6 separate regions of the Homo sapiens genome follow, and all the other regions are linked to region 1. Evidence: promoter capture Hi-C in 16 types of primary human blood cells and fetal thymus (Javierre and others, 2016). All regions are on one chromosome and are shown on one strand. The core of a region is centred on a gene start or on the middle of the fragment in contact, and the rest is flanking DNA. Distances in the headings are between cores, read along the strand shown. Region 1 holds the start of CCDC174 (coiled-coil domain containing 174). Region 2 overlaps HACL1 (2-hydroxyacyl-CoA lyase 1). Region 3 overlaps WNT7A (Wnt family member 7A). Region 4 overlaps LOC105376957 (a long non-coding RNA gene). Region 5 overlaps CAPN7 (calpain 7). Region 6 overlaps TMEM43 (transmembrane protein 43).

Region 1 (3,014 bases), core at 167-2,666:
TATAGCTTTCTGGTTCCTGATCTTCAAACAAAATAATAACTGGTACCAATTTTAACCAATAATAGTTACCAATAATAACTAGTACTCAAATATTGGGACACCTATATGTTTTCCTTCCTACTCACTTTGTGTCCTAATACTCTGAAGTAAATTCAAGATTAAATCAAAGGTTGGGCAATTTGCTCTGATGATGAAAAGGCAGCAGCTTTGGAGTCAAGTAGAGTGAGTGAGAAAGGGTCTATCACTAAGATTTCTTCCCCCCGCCCCCCGCCCCTTAGACGGAGTTTCGCTCTTGTTGCCCAGGTTGGAGTGCAATTGCGCGATCTCGGCTCACCGCAACCTCCGCCTCCCCGGTTCAAGCGATTCTCCTGCCTCAGCTTCCCGAGTAGCTGGGATTACAGGCGTGCACCACCACGCCCGGCTAATTTTTTTATTTTTAGTAGAGACGGGGTTTCTCCATGTTGGTCAGACTGGTCTCAAACTCCCGACCTCAGGTGATCTGCCCGCCTCAGCCTCCCAAAGTGTTGGGATTACAGGCGTGAGTCACCGCGCCCGGCTATCACTAAGATTTCTGTCTGTAAGCTGGGGAAAGCTACTTCATCTTTCCAGGCCTCAATTTCATCATCCATAAAACGGAGATATTAATAGCACCTACCTCCTAAAGCCATTGGGAGGATTCAATGAGATAGTGCATATAAAGTGCTGGCACAAAATGTGTACTTAGAACAAGTTTTCTTTCTAGAGTAGCTGATGTAATAAATCTGCTTACATCCTTTCAGACCTCACAACTCCCTATGCCTGCATTAACAACTGTTTAGTTCCAGGGAGGGCACGCTGGACACTTTCGGGTCCTGCGAAATATGTCACACTCTAAAGTTCTGGGAGGACTTTGTGGGTCCCTGGATGGAGGAGAAACCAGGAAGAGGATATGTCTGCATAGCAAAAAGAAGCTAGGGTTCCTCCTGACTGTAAGGGAGAAGGCTGACGAGGTGCAGGTCCTTGTGGGCAGGGCAGAGGTGAGGCACGGAGTTTCCTAACCCACGGGACACCAGGTTCAGATCCGTGTCCGAGGGTTCTGGCCCGGGCGCATGTCAGAGGAGAGTAGCCCAATTCAGGGTCCTGTAAGAAAACTGAACCGGATCCCCGCCGGAGAAGAAAATCCAGTTCGGGGGTTCCTGTTTGAGGGGAGAGGTCAGGTCTCTGGGTCCCCGAGTGAAGAAACAAGCTAGGTCGACATTCTTGTCTGATGGAGACACGGTGAACCCGGAGCCCGTGGAGTTACCTCATACCCTCACTCACCGAGGAGGCCGTGACGTCCAAAGGCTTTTTCCTACGGTCCATGGTCGTGGCAGAGGGTCCCGGTCCAGGAAGGACCCTTTCTACCCGACACAGGCCTCGTAAGCCTACCTCCGTCGCAACCGGAAGTGTCTTCGACAGCGACACTGAGTTTGCGTGAGTTTGCGACGCGAGTTTGTCAGCTCAGCGCCATCTTGAGAAGGTCAGAGTGTGGTGCGTATTACGTTCACCATCATTTTGGAAAGGTCATAGAGTGCGGAGGTTGACGCTAACTGCTAAGGTCATCTTGAGGGCGGAAGGTAACAAGGATTGGTGTGGGCGCCATCTTGAGAAGGGCGGAATAAAGCTTTTGATTGCGATGGACGCCATATTGGGTGGGGCGGATGTGGGGTTGGCGACAAAGATAACGCCATCTTGGGGAAGGCTGACGCTTAAGTAAGTGAACTCGAGCGTCTCGGGAAAGGTGGATTGGGAGGACCGGAAGAATCTTAACTGCAATTCCAGGACCTGCTGCCTGGCACTTTTCACACGTTAAATAGTTGGTTCTTAAAAGAGCGTACGAGATAAGGATTATTATATTAATCTTAGTAGAAATAACAAGAATAATAGCTAACATTAATGTAGTGCTTATTATGGGCCACTTTACATATTTCAGCTCTTAAGAACGTGAACTCCTGGGCCGGGCGCGGTGGCTCACGCCTGTAATCCCAGCACTTTGGGAGGCTGAGGCGGGTGGATCAGGAGGTCAGGAGTTTGAGACCAGCCTGACCAACATGGTGAAACCCCGTCTCTGCTGAAAATACAAGAAAAAAAAAAAATTAGCCGAGCGTGGTGGTGCGCGCCTGTATTCCCAGCTACTCAGGAGGCTGAGGCAGAAGAATCGCTTGAACCTGGGAGGTGGAGGTTGCAGTGAGTCGAGATCAAAAAAAAAAAAAACAAAGAACACGTGAACTCGAAAGCTGACTTTCTGGGTTGGAATCGCTCTTCACGGCTTACTGCTTGTGTGACCTTGGGCAAGTTACTTAACTTCCGTGTGCCTCAGTTTCCAAAGGGGGATATAATTTTATTTACCTAATGGGTCTTAGTGAGGATTAGATGAGTTAAATGAGCTAGTCTTGATAAAAATGTTAATGATTATGGTAGACAGACCAATCACCCTCACCCCGACTCCCAGATGTCTACCTTCTAATCCCCAGAATCTGGGTATATGGTGACCTTTATATAGCAAAAGAGAATTGGCAGAGATGATGAAATTAAAGCGATTGAGATGGGGAGCTAGCCTGGATTGTGCAGGTGGGTCCCCTATCATCAAAACCATCCTTATAAGGGGTAGACAGGATGGCCAGAGTCAGACAGAGATCAGAGATGCTTTGAAGAGGGAGAGTGGGACCACATGCCTAGGTATGCAGGAGGCCGCTAGAAAAAGCAAAGAAATGAGCCCTCCTCCAGAGTCTCCAGAAGGAATGCAGCATTGCTGACACGGTGATTTTAGTCTTGTAACACTCATCTCAAACTTCTGACTTCCAGAACTCTACCAGAATACGTTTGTGTTGTTTTAAGCCACCAAACTTGTGGCAATTTGTTACAGCAGCAAGACGAAAGTGATCATAATGATTGTAACAGTGGCATTTAGTATATGTGGGGCATGTGTATGACTCTTTGCATAGATTATATTATATAATCCTTGCAAGAATCCTAGAAGCGGACCTATTATCCAC
Region 2 (3,014 bases), core at 341-2,840, 950 kb before region 1:
AGAAAGTGGGGAAGCTGGGATTTAAATCAAAACAGATTGGCTCGAGAGTCCACTCTCTAAGTACCATGTACACTGTTCTGCCTGTGAATGGAGGTAGTTTAGTAGAGGAACAGATCTTTTATGGTCATAAAACCAGTTATGGCCAGGCGCGGTGGCTCACGCCTGTAATCCCAGCACTTTGGGAGGCTGAGGCAGGCAGATCACCTGAGGTCAGGAGTTTGAGACCAGCCTGACCAACATGGAGAAACCCCGTTTCTAAAAATATAAAATTAGCCAGGCGTGGTGGTGCATGTTTGTAATGCCAGCTGCTCGGGAAGCTGAGGCAGGAGAATTGCTTGAACCTGGGAGGTGGAGGTTGCCGTGAGCCAATATTGCATCATTGCACTCCAGCCTGGGCAACAAGAGCGAAACTCCGAAACTCTGTCTCAAAAAAAAAAAACAAAACAAAACAAAATAAAACAAAACAAAACAGTTACCTCTCAACTTTTGACATTTCCTACCAGAGGAATATACTTTTTGTTACGTGTTGTTGTATATTTTGCATTGCCTAGCAACATTTCTTACCTAGCTATCATAAGTGGGCAATTCTTTTGGGTGTCTAAATAAAGTGTTCTTATTGCAGCAGGTATTTACATGCCTGCATTTCTTAGGAGTTGTCTTATTCTCCTAATGTGAATTTGGCCTTATGTGCAAAAGGAAAGAGAGATGGGGCCAGTAGAGAATAGCGACACAGGAAAAGAGCAGAGTCTTTGTGCAGGTTCTCAGTGGGTGTATGATAGTAGAGCCAGTTAAGATTATGATCCATAAACATTTCCTTTTTTTTTTTTTCCACATTTATGTCGTTAATGTGGAGTTCTTTAAGACAGTATACTACTTCATTTAAAGCTGAATGAAGGCTAGGAAATACGCAATTCATTATTATTTCTAAAGAAATGAGAAGAAATAATACTGGGAAAAAAATGATGTCCCAGACTAAGAAGAATTTGAGAGAGCACTCAGCATTTTCCCAGGTTATCTTGTGTGCATTTAATTTAGTGCCCCCTCTCTTCCTGATTATGAGCTGAAGTAGAGTTACAAGGTAAAAACTATCCATATGCAGGCCATAAAGGAAATCTCAATAAATCGCCAAGGATTGAAAGCGTGCAGTATATGTCACCTGACCATGTGGAAGTAAAGTGGAACTCAATAAGAGATCACTAAAAAGAATCTCAGACCTTTGGAAATTAAGCAACATACTTTTTGGTATTTTGTAAATATTTGAAAAGATTAACAAAATGAATAAACTTCAAGATAGACTGATTGAGAATAAAAGAGAAAACAGATTACCAATGTCAGGAATGAAAAAGGAGGTATCACTACAGATCCTAATTAACCAATGGGTTGAAGAAGAAATCACAATGGAAAGTAGAAAATATTTTGAATAGAATGATAATGAAAAGATGCAACTCAAACTTGTAACCTATAACTAAAGCAGTTCTTGGAATCATTTTAAACAAATTATTAGTAAAGAAAATTAAAAACCAGTGTTCTAAATTTGTATTTTAAGAAGCTAGAAAAAGAAAAGCAAATCAAATTCAAAATGACTGAAATAATAAATACAAGAACAGAAATCAATGAAATAGAAAACAAACAATAGAGAAAAACCAACAAAAATTTTCGAAGAACTAAAAAAATTTGTTCTTTGAAAAGATGGATAAATTTGATAAACCCCTCATGAGACTGATGAAGAATAAAAGAAAGAAAACAAATTACCAATATTGTTAATAAAAGAGGACATTCCTATTGATCCTGCAGATATTTAAGCAATTGTAAGAGGATGTTTTGAATAACATACATATGAACAAATTTCCTGAAAAACTAAAATTTAGATAACCATTATTTGAAATTTATGTGTAGAACATTTATTACTAAGGTTGGAAATATTTTAATTCTGCCTTTACCACTATGTTCTTGTCTATTATTTAATAGTAAGTTGCTGTCATAAATGTACTATAAGGATCCCAATATGCTCAAGTCCCAGTGTTGTTTTCTCGTAGGCTTGTTATGCTGCCTCCGCGATTGGATATCTGACAAGCAGGTAAACTAAAATTTGTTTCACTTCAATTACTTTAATATTTTGGGGTAGAACTATTACGTCTTTCAGCTGAAGGATGAGTTCATTTGGAAAGATTATAGAAAAATATATTAAATAACAAAGGATAAAAAACATTTAAAACTCTCTGAGGACCACATCAAAAGAATAATGATACCAGAAGTGTTTCAGAGTGGAACACATTGCCATTTTGTAGAGTGAATCACTGGTGATCAGATAGTGAGTTGATGTATGATACCTTGTCTTGGATCTCACAACTACCCCAGCACACTTAATACAAAAATGCTTGGTTCAAAATGTGACTGTTGAGAGCTGTTCCACACGTTCTGATTTTTTAGTGTGTATCCATGTTACCTAACTACCACCCCCTTTTTATTATTAAAAATTAATACATTTTTAAAATGTCCATTTTGGAAAACTTGGAAAATATAGAAAGCACAAAGAAGAAAATGAAAATCGACTAGGCACGGTGGGTCACGCCTGTAATCCCAGCACTTTGGGAGGCTGAGGCAGGTGGATCACCTGAGGTCAGGAGTTTGAGACCAGCTTGGCCAACATGGTGAAACACCATCTCTACTAAAAATACAAAAATCACCCTGGTGTGGTGGCATGCGTCTGTAATCCCAGCTACTCGGGAGGCTGAGGCAGGAGAATCGGCTTGAACCCAGGAGGCGGAGGTTGCAGTGAGCTGAGATTGCGCCACTGCACTCCAGCCTGGGTGATAGAGTGAGACTCCGTCTCAAAAAAAAAAAAAAAAAAAAAAAGGAAAAAAGATGAAGAAAATCACCTATGATCTCAGAACTGTTAAGAATTGGTCATTTTCTTCCAGTTTTTTCCCTTATCTATGTATTTTTTAAGCAGAATTTGGACTCTCACAGGAATGTGTATCATACTTTTTTCACATATGTTAGTTTTAATACAT
Region 3 (3,014 bases), core at 211-2,710, 770 kb after region 1:
ACTACTACCCCCCTACCCCGTCACTTCCCCAGTCCACGTCTCTGGAGCGGGGATTTCGCAAGTTGTCCGGCCGCGGCCGCTAGCAGGTGCGTGCAGAGCCGACCAGGGGCCGCCAGCCCGACCAGCGGCGGAGAGGCGGCTGCGGGGCTCGCGCCAGTACCGCCAGCCTGCCGGTGTGTTTTAAGTGTTATTGATTCGCCCGCGTCTGGGTGGCTTTCCTTTTTTTCCCCTGCTTTAATCTTCATCTTGGCCCGCGCCCCGCCGCCCCGCGCACATTCAGCATCCAGGAAGCCAGTAGGGCCGATTGGCTCGAGCCGATTGACTCGGGCCGCGTGCGGCTTTATCTCCTTTTTAATTAGAAACGGGGAGGAGGGACACGGGTGGCGGGGGAGACAGAAAGGGAAAACAGCAGAAAATAACCTCCCCTGGCCGCCCCGCCCGCCCGCGGGCCGCCCTCCCGCCGGCGCCGCGGCCTCCCCGGATTGGCCCTGCGGGGGCCCAGCTGCCCGGCAGGGAGGGAGGGAGGGAGTCCTGCAGGGCGCTGGCTTTCCGCCCCAAGCTGCCCTCTGGGGTAGGGAGAGGTCCAGGTCGGAGAGGTGGGAGTTGCAGGTGACTTCGGGCCAGGCCCTGCTGCTCCCTGCGCCTCGGGCTACTCATCTGTATAGTGGACATGAGGGGTGAAGTCTCAACGTCCCTAAAAGGTTTTTCCATTTCCCCAGACGTGACGGCTCTACCCGCTTCTGGCTGATGGTGGGGCATCTGCGGTATTCTTATTTTGCTCGGATAGTTCAGGTGACTCCGCACTAGCCTATTGCAACAATCAGATCCGATAACGATAATGATAATTACAACACCACCACCACATTTATGGGGCACTCACTATGTGCCTGGCACCTTCTAAGCACTTTCCATGTTCTAGCACATTTGATTTTCACAGCAGCCAATGAGGTGGGGACTAGTTATCAATACCCTAATTTAGCCATGGAGAAACTGAAGTGCAGAGGGAAGGAAACTTGCCTAAGATCGCACAACTAATAAGTGAAGGAAGCTTGGATGAGAACCTAGGCCAGACCCTTAGGGGCTAGTCTATTGCACCTATGAATTTTTGGCCCCAGTATGCCAACCTATCCACTCTCAGCTGGTGTAGAAATTTCCTGGTGGCCAGCTAGGTGCTCAGAGGGTCCTCCTGACAAATGATGCCAAAACGTCTCCACTTAATCTTCTCATGCTGCTTCTTCCTCAGACATTCCCAGCATTCTAGTGTGTGTTAGACTCGGGTTTAGCGCTGAGATGCCAGTGCAAAGCCAGGCTGTCCCACCTCCAACACCTGCTAGCTGAGAACCTTCCTCCAGGTCCCAACCTCTGTGAGCCTCAATTTTCAAATATGTGAAACGGATGTGATGATTCTTGCCCCACAGGGCTGTGTGGAAAGGTCACATGAGCTGCTGTTTGTGGCAGCACCCACCATACTGCCTTGGCACATAGTAGGGACACTGCCCAAGTTTACTGATGCATTTGATGCATATTTGGGGGGCACCTGCCATGTAATAGGTACTCACCCGGAGCCACATCTTTGAAGTGCCACAATCCATTTATTCAGCAGTCATTTAGTGAACCAGCAGACAGCCTCCCTGCCCTCAGGGAGCTCATCCTCTCAGGAGGAAGACAAGTGATCAAGTGAGCATGCAAATTAAAAACACAGACATGAAAACATTTCAGTAGACCATGAGTAATCAAGAATATCCAGTAAACAAAACAGAGATTGTGATGGGAATTTATTAGGGGTAGGGAGGGGAGGGAGGAGCCCTTAGCTGGGCTGGTCAGGGAGGTGACCCTTGAGGTCATGTGAATAATGGCAAGAAGCCAAGCTTGTGAAGATCAGGGGTGAGAGCGCTTCCAGGGAGAGGAGGAGCAAGGACAGAGTGCCTACTGCAGGGAGAAGGCTGGCACGTGGCAGGAGCCTAGGGAAACGGCAGGAGTGATCAGTTGTGCGCTTGGAGGGCATGGGTCCATGTCACCTCCTTGAGTTATTGGTACAGGAGAACCTCACTCTAACAAATTGCAACTCCAGAAAACTGCCCACAGCTGAGCCCCAGGACGAGGCACTTGTCCAGTGGCTCTACCTGCAGCCCTACCACTGCCACCAAGCCAAGCCACCACCAACCCTAACCTGCCTAGTCCCTCTGCTCCTGCTCTGGCACCCCACAGGTCTTTCCTACATGGAGTGGGGACCACCAGGTCATGTCAGTGTCCTGCTTACACCCTTCAGTGCTTCCTGGTGCTGCCTGATGCACCTGAGAAAATGCCAGCCCTCAGCCATCTCCTCTTCCCAGGATCTCCCTGCATCTCAAGCCCTGGCTTTGTAGCAGTTTCCATGGGTTCTTTCTATTCCTTGAAGACCCCGAACTTGTCTCCTAGAACTTTGCATTTTCTGTTCCCTCTGCATAGAATACCCTTCTCCAGATCTTCCCACAGATGCCTCCTGGCAATTCAGATCTCTGTTCTGTTCTAATGTCAACTCCTCAAGGAAGTCCTCTTGATCACCTCAGCTAAAGTGGCCCTCACTTTCCTCACCACCCCCACACCCCAGTTGCCATCCCAGCATCTTCCTTTACTTTCTTCATAGTACATATCACTGTCGAGATGGCCTGTTTTATTCATTTGTGACATCTGTGTTGTCACCCTCCCTAGTTCCTTGAGGGCAGGGCATTGCCTGTCAGGTGCACAGCTGTCTCCTAGCATGGTACGTGGCACATGATGGGTATCCGATATATATCAGTGAATAGTTGAGGAAGATAGGAATTCTCCTCATAATAGTCGCACACATCCTCTAGGCCAGTCATGCCCGGAGTGGGATACATGTACTCCATTGACAGCAGGAAGAAAATGCCAGGACTTCTACTTACAATTACTTTTTAAGTTTTTTTTCCAACAATAAAACATATACATACATGAGAGTATATGTTACATATACATTAAAAAACAGATTTTTTTAATGAACATCTGTGCACCCA
Region 4 (3,014 bases), core at 149-2,648, 750 kb after region 1:
CAGTTTATACTGTATTCTCTCCAGTATGAATTCTCCAATACTAATGAAGGATGATTTATAGTTAAAGAACTGCCCACATTGCTAGCATTCAAAGGACTTCTTACTATTGTTGTACAGAAACTGAGCTACAGGTACAAGGTTTCTCACATTTACTACATTCACGGGGTTTGTAGTGGGTTGAATAGTGTCCACCTCCCCCTCAAAATTCACATCCACCCAGAATCTTGGAATGTAACTTTATTTGGAATGGGGTCTTTTCAGATGTAATTATTGAAGATAAAGTCATACTGAAATTAGGATATGCCCTAAATATGATGACTGGTTTCCTTACAAGAAGAGTAGAAGAGACAGAGACACACACAGAGAAGAAAGCCATGTGAGGATGGAGACTGGAGTGATATAGCTACACATCAAGCAATGCCAAAAATTACTGGCAACCAGCAGAATCTAGGAGAAGGGCATAGAACAGTTTCTTCTTGAGAGCCTCCAGAAGGAACAAACTTCCCAAATCCCTTTATTTCTGACTTCTGGCCTCTTAAGCTGTGAGAGAATAAACTCCTGTTGTTTTAAGCCACCCAATTTGTGCTTATCTGTTTTGGCAGCTATAGGAATCTAATTTCCCCTCCTGTGTGATTCTTCTGATATACAATAAAGTATTATCCACTGAAGAAAGCTTTGCCATATTTGTTATATTGATTAGGATTATCATTTCTACAAATTTTGGGTGGCTAAAGAATTTTAACCCCTGGTACTGTGGCTTTTTACTTTAATTAAAATCATAAAAATTCTCTCCAGTATGACTTCTCTATGCACAATGAAGTGGAATTTTCTAGTGAAGGCCTTCCTACATTTATTACACTTATAGGAACCTCTACACTATGAACCTCTTGATGTCTTATGAAGTTTGTTATAACTGAAAGTTGTCCCACATTATTATATTAAAAAAAGTTTTACACATGCATAGGTTGAACTAATAATTTCCCACATTTTTATGTTTATAATATTTCTTGCTAGCACAGTTTCTCTCAACTGTATCAAAATTACACTTCAAATGCCCTCAAATAACTATGAGATGCTGCTTTCCTTGGAGGAATTAGCTTTGAGCTCAGATAAAAACTGGCTTCCAATTTTACTATATTCATTTCCTTTCTCCACAGTCAATGCTTTATTGAAGATGAATGTACCTAGCTTCAAGTCTCCCTCCCCTCCTTTTGAAATAAATTTTACAAAGAGCTTTTCCTTGTGAATATTCTTTCAGTCAACTTAGGAATACCCTTGTTCAGAATTGTCCTATTGTATGTTTCATGTCTCACCTTCTAGAACTATTGAGAGCTCAATTGCAAATGACCTCTTCCCTAGCTGAAAAAGTACTCATTGTAAGACAACTGGTGCAGAAATAAACAATTCAGGGAAGATAACATTTGAGTAATTTCAAACATGATCTTGCATTATGCAGAAAGCCAATAAAATAATCAGAAGGAAGATGAAAAGATGAAAGAGAAAGTATATAGAACAGAGAGTAAGCACAAAGAGGACTGGACAGGAAACGGAGTTACTAGAAATAGCAGCTAGAGTGATGTCAGAAGGGAATGGCAGAATAAGGACCTCCAAAACTCCCCTACTCCATAAAAGCAATGGGAACACAGGCAATAATTATTGAAATCAAGTCTTTCAGAACTCTAGAAATTAACCAAAATCTTATAATAATCCAGAGAGCATTTATTCAAGAAAATGGCTGAATATTGGTAAGGACAGCATTTCTTTTGGCATATAAATTGCTCTATTCTTACTCACTTTATCCCAACTGCACAGCACCTTTGAAAATCAAAAATCAGTAATCATAGTTAAAATCTGCAACCTAGCAGCTACTGGAGAGGAAGAACAGGTTGAAACATCCAACACCCCAATCCTAGACAACTGTCCTTATTTAATCTGGAGCTTCCTAAGAAAGCGCCACTCAAAGGTCTTCTCTTTATTTTACCTCACTCAGATTTCCTGCAGTGTGAAAGGCCTTTTCTCCACAGGCATTCATCAAAAATCATCAATGGCAAGTGTTTAATACTGCAGCTGCCTGAGGTAGTGATAAGAGTGGATCAAATAACAAGCTAACCAAAAAAGCTTTTAAAAAGTAAAATCCAGGGAACAAAGTGTCCATGGGGGGCTTTAAGCATGCATAGGAATAGCATGCATACTCAGGACTATAAGTATGCTAGGAAAGACATGACAAGGCCCTAGGTTCTCACCTGAGGCTGTCCAGGAAGCTCTGCACGAGCCAGAAGTAAAATCTAAGACAGGGTCATGAACTGCCTCTCCAAGTGTTGAGAGCATGCCTAGACACACACACACACACACACACACACACACACACACACAGTGCCCCTCAGCAGTCCAAGAGTCTTAGTTCTATACTTTAAAAAAATATATCTCCAATTCATAGCTGATTTGCATGGTAGCAAAACAGAGAGTTCAGTGGCCACAAATGAGAACAATATACAGACTTTCCTGAATGAGCCTGATCCCATATCTCAGAGCCCACCAGTGTTAATACCCTGGGTGGGTATCCTTTCATCTCATTCTCTTTAGTCATAAAAAGTATCTATCTATGGTTGTTGCCTCCATTTCCTCAACTCCTATTCTCCCAGAATGCATCCAACTGGCTTCTGTTTCCTGCATCTGAAGGAAAGGACACTGGTTCCACTGAGAGCCTCAAGTAACATTCATGGTGCCAAAACTAATGGTTCCCTCTTAGTCACTCTCCTGCTCACTTTCTTAGTGGTCTTCAATGCAAGGTGGCCCCACCTTTCTTCTTGAAATCATCTCTTCTCAGATATCCATGTCATTACATTTACCTCGTTTTCCATCTACCTAACTGGATGTTCTTTTCTATCTCTGTCATAGACTTCTCCTCTGCTCCATCTCTAGATATTGATGTGCCCCAGGACTCACAGAAAGGCTCTCCATGCTTCTCTATCTGCACCCTCTTCCTGGCATTCAATATTGTCCACATGCCTATG
Region 5 (3,014 bases), core at 278-2,777, 560 kb before region 1:
GGGCTCAAGTGACCCTTCTGCCTTAGCCTCCCAAGTGGCTGGAACTACAGGCACTCACCACTGTGCCCAGTTTGTGCTGATGTTTTCAAAACTTTAGCCTTCTTAAATGCCTCTCTGAAGTATATACTAATTCCATTGATGAAAAAGATACCAAAGCTCAAAAATGTTGAAATATCTAGCCCAGTGTTTCTCAGCCTGGCATTATTGACATTTTGGGCTGGATAATTCTTTGTTGTGGGAGACTTTTTAGCAACAGCCTTGGCCTCTACCCAGCTAAATCCCAGAAGCATATTCCTTGCCACCCAGCAGCGTGAAAACCAAAAACTTCTCCAGAAATTGCCAAATGTCCCCTGGGGGGCAAATTGCTTTCTACTGAGACCCATTGATCTAGTCTAAGATTTCACAGCTACAAGTGAAAGGGTAGAGACTCAACAGGGATCTTTTAATTCCAAGTCTTGAACTCTGTACTACGACGGTTAATTTTACTTTTTATTTTTCGAGACAGGGTCTTACTCTGTCATCCAGGCTGAGGGCAGTGGTGTAATCACGGGTCAGTGCAGCCTCAACCTCCTGGGCTCAAGCAATCTTCCTGCCTCAACCTCTGAGGAGCTGGGACTACAGGCACACACCACCATGCCCAGCAAATTTTTTCAATTTTTGTAGGGGTGAAGTCTATGTTGCCTAGGCTGATCTTGAACTCCTAGATTCAAGGGATTCTCCTGCCTCAGCTTCCCAAAGTGCTGGGATTACAGGCATGAGCCACTGTGCCGGCCTATACTGGTTAATTTTAAATTATGTTACCTTTCCCCACCCCAAAATCAACTCTCTCTCAGGATTCTCTTAACTGTCAGCAGACTATCTTGTTTTAAAACTTAGGGTTCCTAACAGGATTTTTATTTGAAAAAGGACTTTTCTGCTTAAAATAATAAATAAGAAAATCCTTTAAATTGTCTAGAGATTATACTCCATTTCTTCAACAAAAGCAGAAAGAAGTTGGTAAAACAAGCTATGTTATGCTTTAAAAATCCTTTTTAAGGCCAGGCATGGTGGCTCACGCCTGTAATCCCAGCACTTTGGGAGGCCGAGGCGGGTGGATCACGAGGTCAGGAGATCGAGACCATCCTGGCTAACATGGTGAAATCCTGTCTCTACTAAAAATATAAAAAATCAGCTGGGTGTGGTGGCAGGCGCCTGTAGTCTCAGCTACTGGGGAGGCTGACGCAGGAGAATGGCGTGAACCCCGGAGGCGGAACTTGGCAGTGAGCTGAGATCGCGCCACTGCACTCCAGCCTGGAAGACAGAACGAGACTCCACCTCAAAAAAAAAAAAAAAAAATCCTTTTTGAACTCTATTTCACTGGCAAGTCTTTATTCTTCAAGAGATTGGGGTGTCTCATTTGATGCTTGAATATCACATATATATCAATGTTTAGAATTTATTTCCCAAAAATCACATGTAAGTTTTTAGGCTTAGCTGTATTTAATATAAAGTAAGAATAATTTTTAAAATTCCTTAGAAAAAAATGATTCATATTTATTTTTTCCAATTGTCACAAGGATTTCAAGGGTTTAAAGAGCAATCTTACTGGAATCAAGACCCTAGGGCATAAATGTGCTTGACTGTGTGTACATATGGAAAAGAAAGATGGAAATATACCTTAGGCTGCCAGAGATTCTACTCCTGGAATAATATCACCATATAATCTCTCCTTTCTAGAGCATTCTGCTTTAACATTTAGTCTAGCATGCTTCAGAAAGGGGTTTCCATGATAGTGCAATGTTGACACTGTTCTCTCTCCACACCTGATGAAGTCCTCCTGAGGACATGGACTGTCACTCATCTATTACCCTGTACTTACCATAGAGCCCAAACATGTATTCAATACATAGTTATTGAAATGAAGAAAACTATCTATGAAAAAACAAGGAGATCATGGAAGTAAACATGAAAGACTACCTTCCCTACTTCAAAGATAATTTTATTTGAAAACACTGGTTATGAAACAAAGTTCCTAATATTGGGCAGTTAAATTTAAGAACTTCATTTACTTGGCTGGGAAAAGAAAGTTCCTTTGAATTTTATATGATATTTTGAATACATGAATCAATACTTTGTATCAAGTGAGGTTCCAATAACACAGGCAGTACACTTTTCAATACATGCAATTTCTGGGCACTGTATTAAAAGTAAACCGCCTTGTTTTTAAGGGAACTGTCATAACAAGGAATCCAATGATTAAATCTACTTTATCCCAACGATGTTCTTGTAATTGCTCGTATCTACTCAAAATGAGTGGTAGAAAGTTACACAAAGTCCATGAGAATAAATATTCTTCTGCTTGGCGCTTTATCATGCAGCAACAGAAAAAGAGGGTTAAAAAGAATCCCTACAGAAATCAATGTATTTGTAAATACAATGTCAACATCAGTTACCTCTAACAAAACTGTGACCATTAAGACTATATATTTCTATTATTGTACCTGTTGTGCTGTTTACAAAAATAAATACAAGTAGTTCCAAGTCTCTGTTTACATGTCACTTTCCCAAGATATGGTTTTAAAGAGTTTAGCAAAGGTCTGAAAGTAGAAGACACCGAAAGAGAAGACACTGTGAACCTACTGCTGAAGTCTGTAAACACTGAAGAGGAACAGTCACTTAATTTTATAAGGAAGAGACGTGACAGATATTTTAAAAGCAGACTTTAACTGAATCCTAATCCTAACTTTGCCAATGATAAATTGTTTGAACATAGGTAATTCACCATCTCTGCACTCTGGGAAATTAGGAAACTGGACTATATTGTCTATAAGGTTCCTCTTCAAAGATCTATGACTTATTTCTAAATGACTTTTAAAGAGGTGATTACCAAAAGTGGAATGAGCAGCAACAGAGTGAGCATCAAGATTCAAAGATAAAAATGAAGAAGAGAAACAAACATGGGGGAAAGACATGATGGGAGAAAAGAAAAAATAGAGTGACAAGTTTAGTAGTCCTTTACTAACCTGCTGAATGTA
Region 6 (3,014 bases), core at 297-2,796, 520 kb after region 1:
CTCGGTCGAAGTTTTTGCTGTTGATGATTTCTGACCTCCATTCAGTGTCTGCTCAGGGAGAGGAATCAACTCAGAGCCCGGGTAGGAGTGGCACGCGGCTGAGACCCACCAGCCCAGCTCCTCCTATCTCACAGCCAAAGGGGTGGGTCAGGGAGCCTCAATGGATGGGTGGGAAAGCAGGGCTCTGAAGACTTGCACCCAGGGATCCTGATGCCTGGTGCTGAATCCTTCCCATGGCCCCACCAACAGCCCTGCTGTCCAGCCACCACTGTGGGCCCCCACCATGGGCAGAGACCACGTAAGGGGCCCAGCACTCACTGTAGGAATACCTCGTCTCCTTCTTCACCTGCCCATCCTCGGTGTACTCCCTGCAGGGAAAGCAAAGCAGCCACGGGGGTTAGCCTCGTCGCCCCAGGCAGTCTAATCTCTAAGCATCTGAGCAGGAAGCAACCTCAGGGCTACCAGATCAGACTCCCCAGATACGGCAGATGCCTTCTCTACACCAGCCCCAAGACAGGGCACTCACTCCTGACAGACAGCCAGCTCCTGCCCTCCAAGGCGCTACCTGGAGGAAAGCGCTCTCCCATCCTGAGCTGAAATCTGCCCGCACTGGCCTTACACCAAGGGGCCCAGCCCTGCCCTTTGGGCTCAGAGATCTGGCTGCATCCTCTGCTCCAGGACAGCCCTGCGGGGGGCCTCTTGAAGCTGCCCTTCTCCTGCTCCTCCCACCACCTCCCCACCTGTCGGTCACAGTCCATATGATTCAGGTGGGGCTGAACCCACCCCCAGCTCCAGGTGACCCCAGCCCTGATCAATGAGAACCTGCCCTGGGACTCCTGTCAGAAACGATAAGCTGTAAGTAGAGCAAAGATGGGACCAACACAGCTGATGGGAAGGCTGAACACAGAGAGATGCAGTGGGGTCTCGGGGTTGACATGCTGATCCTAATGACAGTGTTTCAGGCCTGCTCCAAGTCATGCTTCAAGCTTGTGCATCTCTGGAACTTCCCAGATGTGGGAGCAACTCAATCCCCCTTTCCTCCTGGAGCCACTCTTCACTGGATTTTTGCCACTTCCAAATCACTGGCTATTAATTTGGGGATCATTTCACACTTTTCTGATAGGAAGATGTTATACTTGAGTTTCAAAGGTATCAAAATGAAAGACATCTGCATGTTATCCTGACACCTACACTTCACTCCTCCTTTACCCCAACAGAGTTTTCACCCCAACAGCTCACCTGGACTCCTCAGTTTCTACCCATTGGTACATCTCCACGTGCCTCCGCAGTTTCACAGCCGGAAGATGGACCCCATAGTTTGGATCAGACAAAAGCTTCAAACAGAATCAAAGAAACCAAAAAAATAAAGGATAACATTCACGTCAGCCCAGAAAGCCTGGCTCAGGGGAAGCTGGACTGGAAGAGGAAGAAATAGAGAAGGGGACAAGGGTGGAGAGCCCTACACTGCTTTGCAGGGGAGAATCGAGGACACTCCCTGTCCCAGGTTCTTTACACACAGTGCCTGTGACTGTGACCCTCACAGTACAGGCCTGGGCTGCATGGCCCAATGGCATGGTGCCAACAGCGTACAGGGTGTTCAAATAACAGGAAAGCTCTGGTGCCCAGGGTAGTTTTGTGGCCTTGCACTGGACACACATGGTCATCAGAGTCATGAGAGCACCTCCCTGAGTGCCAGCCACTGTACCAAGGCGTTAGTTACCTAATCTCACCAAATCCTCAAGGCTGGCCACAAGCTTGTAACCATTACCGTCCCCATTTTATACACGAAGACACTGAGACTCAGGATAGACAAGTCCACACAGCTGCTGAGTGGTAAAGTCGGGAATCACTCCCATGTGTGACCATCTCCAAGGCCCATGCTTTCAAATCCTCAGCCAGACAACATCCAGGATGAGCCCCGAGCCACTGGCAGGTCAGCATCCCCTGCCAAACCTACCTTGGATGTCCGTAAGGCGCCAATGATGTGCACCAGCCTTCCTTCATTCTCCGGAGCCACACTGTGGATGCTGTCGGGAGACACCACAAGCGAGAGCCCCTCAGCCAATGAGGTTGCCGTCTTCAATGCGCGGCCCTGGGAGCAAAGGGGAGTGGGGATTTCAACAGCTCAGGGGTGGCTCAGCATGACTGTGCTTGTTGCAAAGTATTAGGGTAGGATGGGGCCTCCGGGAGCGCTGAGACCCATCTCCCCACCGTACAGTTGGAAAACTGAGGTCTAGCAAGTGGAGAGTAAGGACTGGAACCCAGATTCCTGCTTTCCCAGGGAGACTTCTTCCTACTGCCCCATTGGTTCCCACTAGCCCCCACCAATCTTAGCACTGCCCCAGTGGTGGGAACAGCTGATGTTTCTGCCTGCCTGTCCCTTTCTCCCCATTTTTCTCTGCCTTCTTTTTTTTAATTTTATTTTTATGTTTAAGTTTTTTGTAGAAATGGGGTCTTGCTATGTTGCCCAGGCTGCTTTCGAACTTCTGACCTCAAGCGATCCTGCCTCCTTGGCCTCCCAAAGTGCTGGGGTTACAGGCTTGAGCCTCCATGCCTGGCTCTCCTCTCTCCTACTCAGCCCATGTGGTTTACCTGAGTCTATCTGAACCCTGGTCAGATTATGGGACCCAGACCTTGCCAGTCAGAACATGTGAGTGCGCCCTGGACACGGAGACTGATTCAGAGGACGGAGAGCCAAGCCAGGACACTGAGAGATGGCCCTGTAACTGCTGCTAAATTGATTTAGAAATATACTGTTGCATCATGAGGCCCTATTAAAAAAAAGGAGAAAAAGAAAGAGAGAGGGAGAGAAAGAAAGAAACAAACAAACAAGAAAGAGAGAAAGAGAGAGACAAAGGAAGGAAGGAAGAAAGGAACAAAGGAAGGGAGGGAGGGAGGGAGGGGAAAGAAAGGAAAAGAAAGAAAGGAAGAGAAACAGATGGTTTTTCTCTTCCCTGGGCTAAGTGGTTGGATGTAGGCCAGTTGCTGGGGCCACATTTGCCATCACAGATGAA

The links. Contacts are between HindIII fragments. The CHiCAGO score rates a contact against its expected background, and 5 or more counts as called.
Region 2: a fragment that was not itself captured here is called in contact with the fragment with the promoter of CCDC174 in region 1 in 1 of 17 cell types (neutrophils); the score reaches 5.4 in neutrophils.
Region 3: a fragment that was not itself captured here is called in contact with the fragment with the promoter of CCDC174 in region 1 in 1 of 17 cell types (total CD8 T cells); the score reaches 5.5 in total CD8 T cells.
Region 4: a fragment that was not itself captured here is called in contact with the fragment with the promoter of CCDC174 in region 1 in 1 of 17 cell types (non-activated CD4 T cells); the score reaches 6.8 in non-activated CD4 T cells.
Region 5: a contact is called between a fragment that was not itself captured here and the fragment with the promoter of CCDC174 in region 1, in 2 of 17 cell types (fetal thymus and naive B cells). The highest score is 5.1, in fetal thymus.
Region 6: a fragment that was not itself captured here is called in contact with the fragment with the promoter of CCDC174 in region 1 in 7 of 17 cell types (monocytes, total B cells, neutrophils and 4 more); the score reaches 8.1 in monocytes.

Annotation. Positions count from the first base shown.
Region 1 is chr3:14,650,164-14,653,177 of GRCh38, reverse strand. CCDC174 (coiled-coil domain containing 174) reads right to left here and starts at 1,416. Exons shown (of 11, transcript NM_016474.5): 1 at 1,300-1,416. The coding sequence starts at 1,341. LOC124909347 (a long non-coding RNA gene) reads left to right here and starts at 1,057. Exons shown (of 2, transcript XR_007095826.1): 1 at 1,057-1,509; 2 at 1,952-3,014. RefSeq lists enhancers at 1,104-1,173, 1,314-1,713, 1,217-1,875. The HindIII fragment of the contact is 1,793 bases long and covers 1-1,644 here.
Region 2 is chr3:15,595,447-15,598,460 of GRCh38, reverse strand. It overlaps HACL1 (2-hydroxyacyl-CoA lyase 1), which reads left to right. Exons shown (of 17, transcript NM_012260.4): 3 at 2,037-2,077. Among named protein-coding and RNA genes, the nearest start is that of HACL1, 4.6 kb to the left of the region's middle. The HindIII fragment of the contact is 4,835 bases long and covers 1-3,014 here.
Region 3 is chr3:13,875,633-13,878,646 of GRCh38, reverse strand. The region is part of intron 1 of WNT7A (Wnt family member 7A); the gene reads left to right. Among named protein-coding and RNA genes, the nearest start is that of WNT7A, 2.9 kb to the left of the region's middle. RefSeq lists an enhancer at 1-103. The HindIII fragment of the contact is 820 bases long and covers 1,051-1,870 here.
Region 4 is chr3:13,899,609-13,902,622 of GRCh38, reverse strand. The region is part of intron 2 of LOC105376957 (a long non-coding RNA gene); the gene reads right to left. Among named protein-coding and RNA genes, the nearest start is that of WNT7A, 21 kb to the right of the region's middle. The HindIII fragment of the contact is 1,445 bases long and covers 676-2,120 here.
Region 5 is chr3:15,212,201-15,215,214 of GRCh38, reverse strand. CAPN7 (calpain 7) reads right to left here. Exons shown (of 21, transcript NM_014296.3): 2 at 3,003-3,014. Among named protein-coding and RNA genes, the nearest start is that of CAPN7, 7.5 kb to the right of the region's middle. The HindIII fragment of the contact is 7,625 bases long and covers 1-3,014 here.
Region 6 is chr3:14,129,900-14,132,913 of GRCh38, reverse strand. It overlaps TMEM43 (transmembrane protein 43), which reads right to left. Exons shown (of 12, transcript NM_024334.3): 3 at 1,958-2,092; 4 at 1,240-1,334; 5 at 319-368; 6 at 1-48. Among named protein-coding and RNA genes, the nearest start is that of TMEM43, 6.4 kb to the right of the region's middle. The HindIII fragment of the contact is 420 bases long and covers 1,337-1,756 here.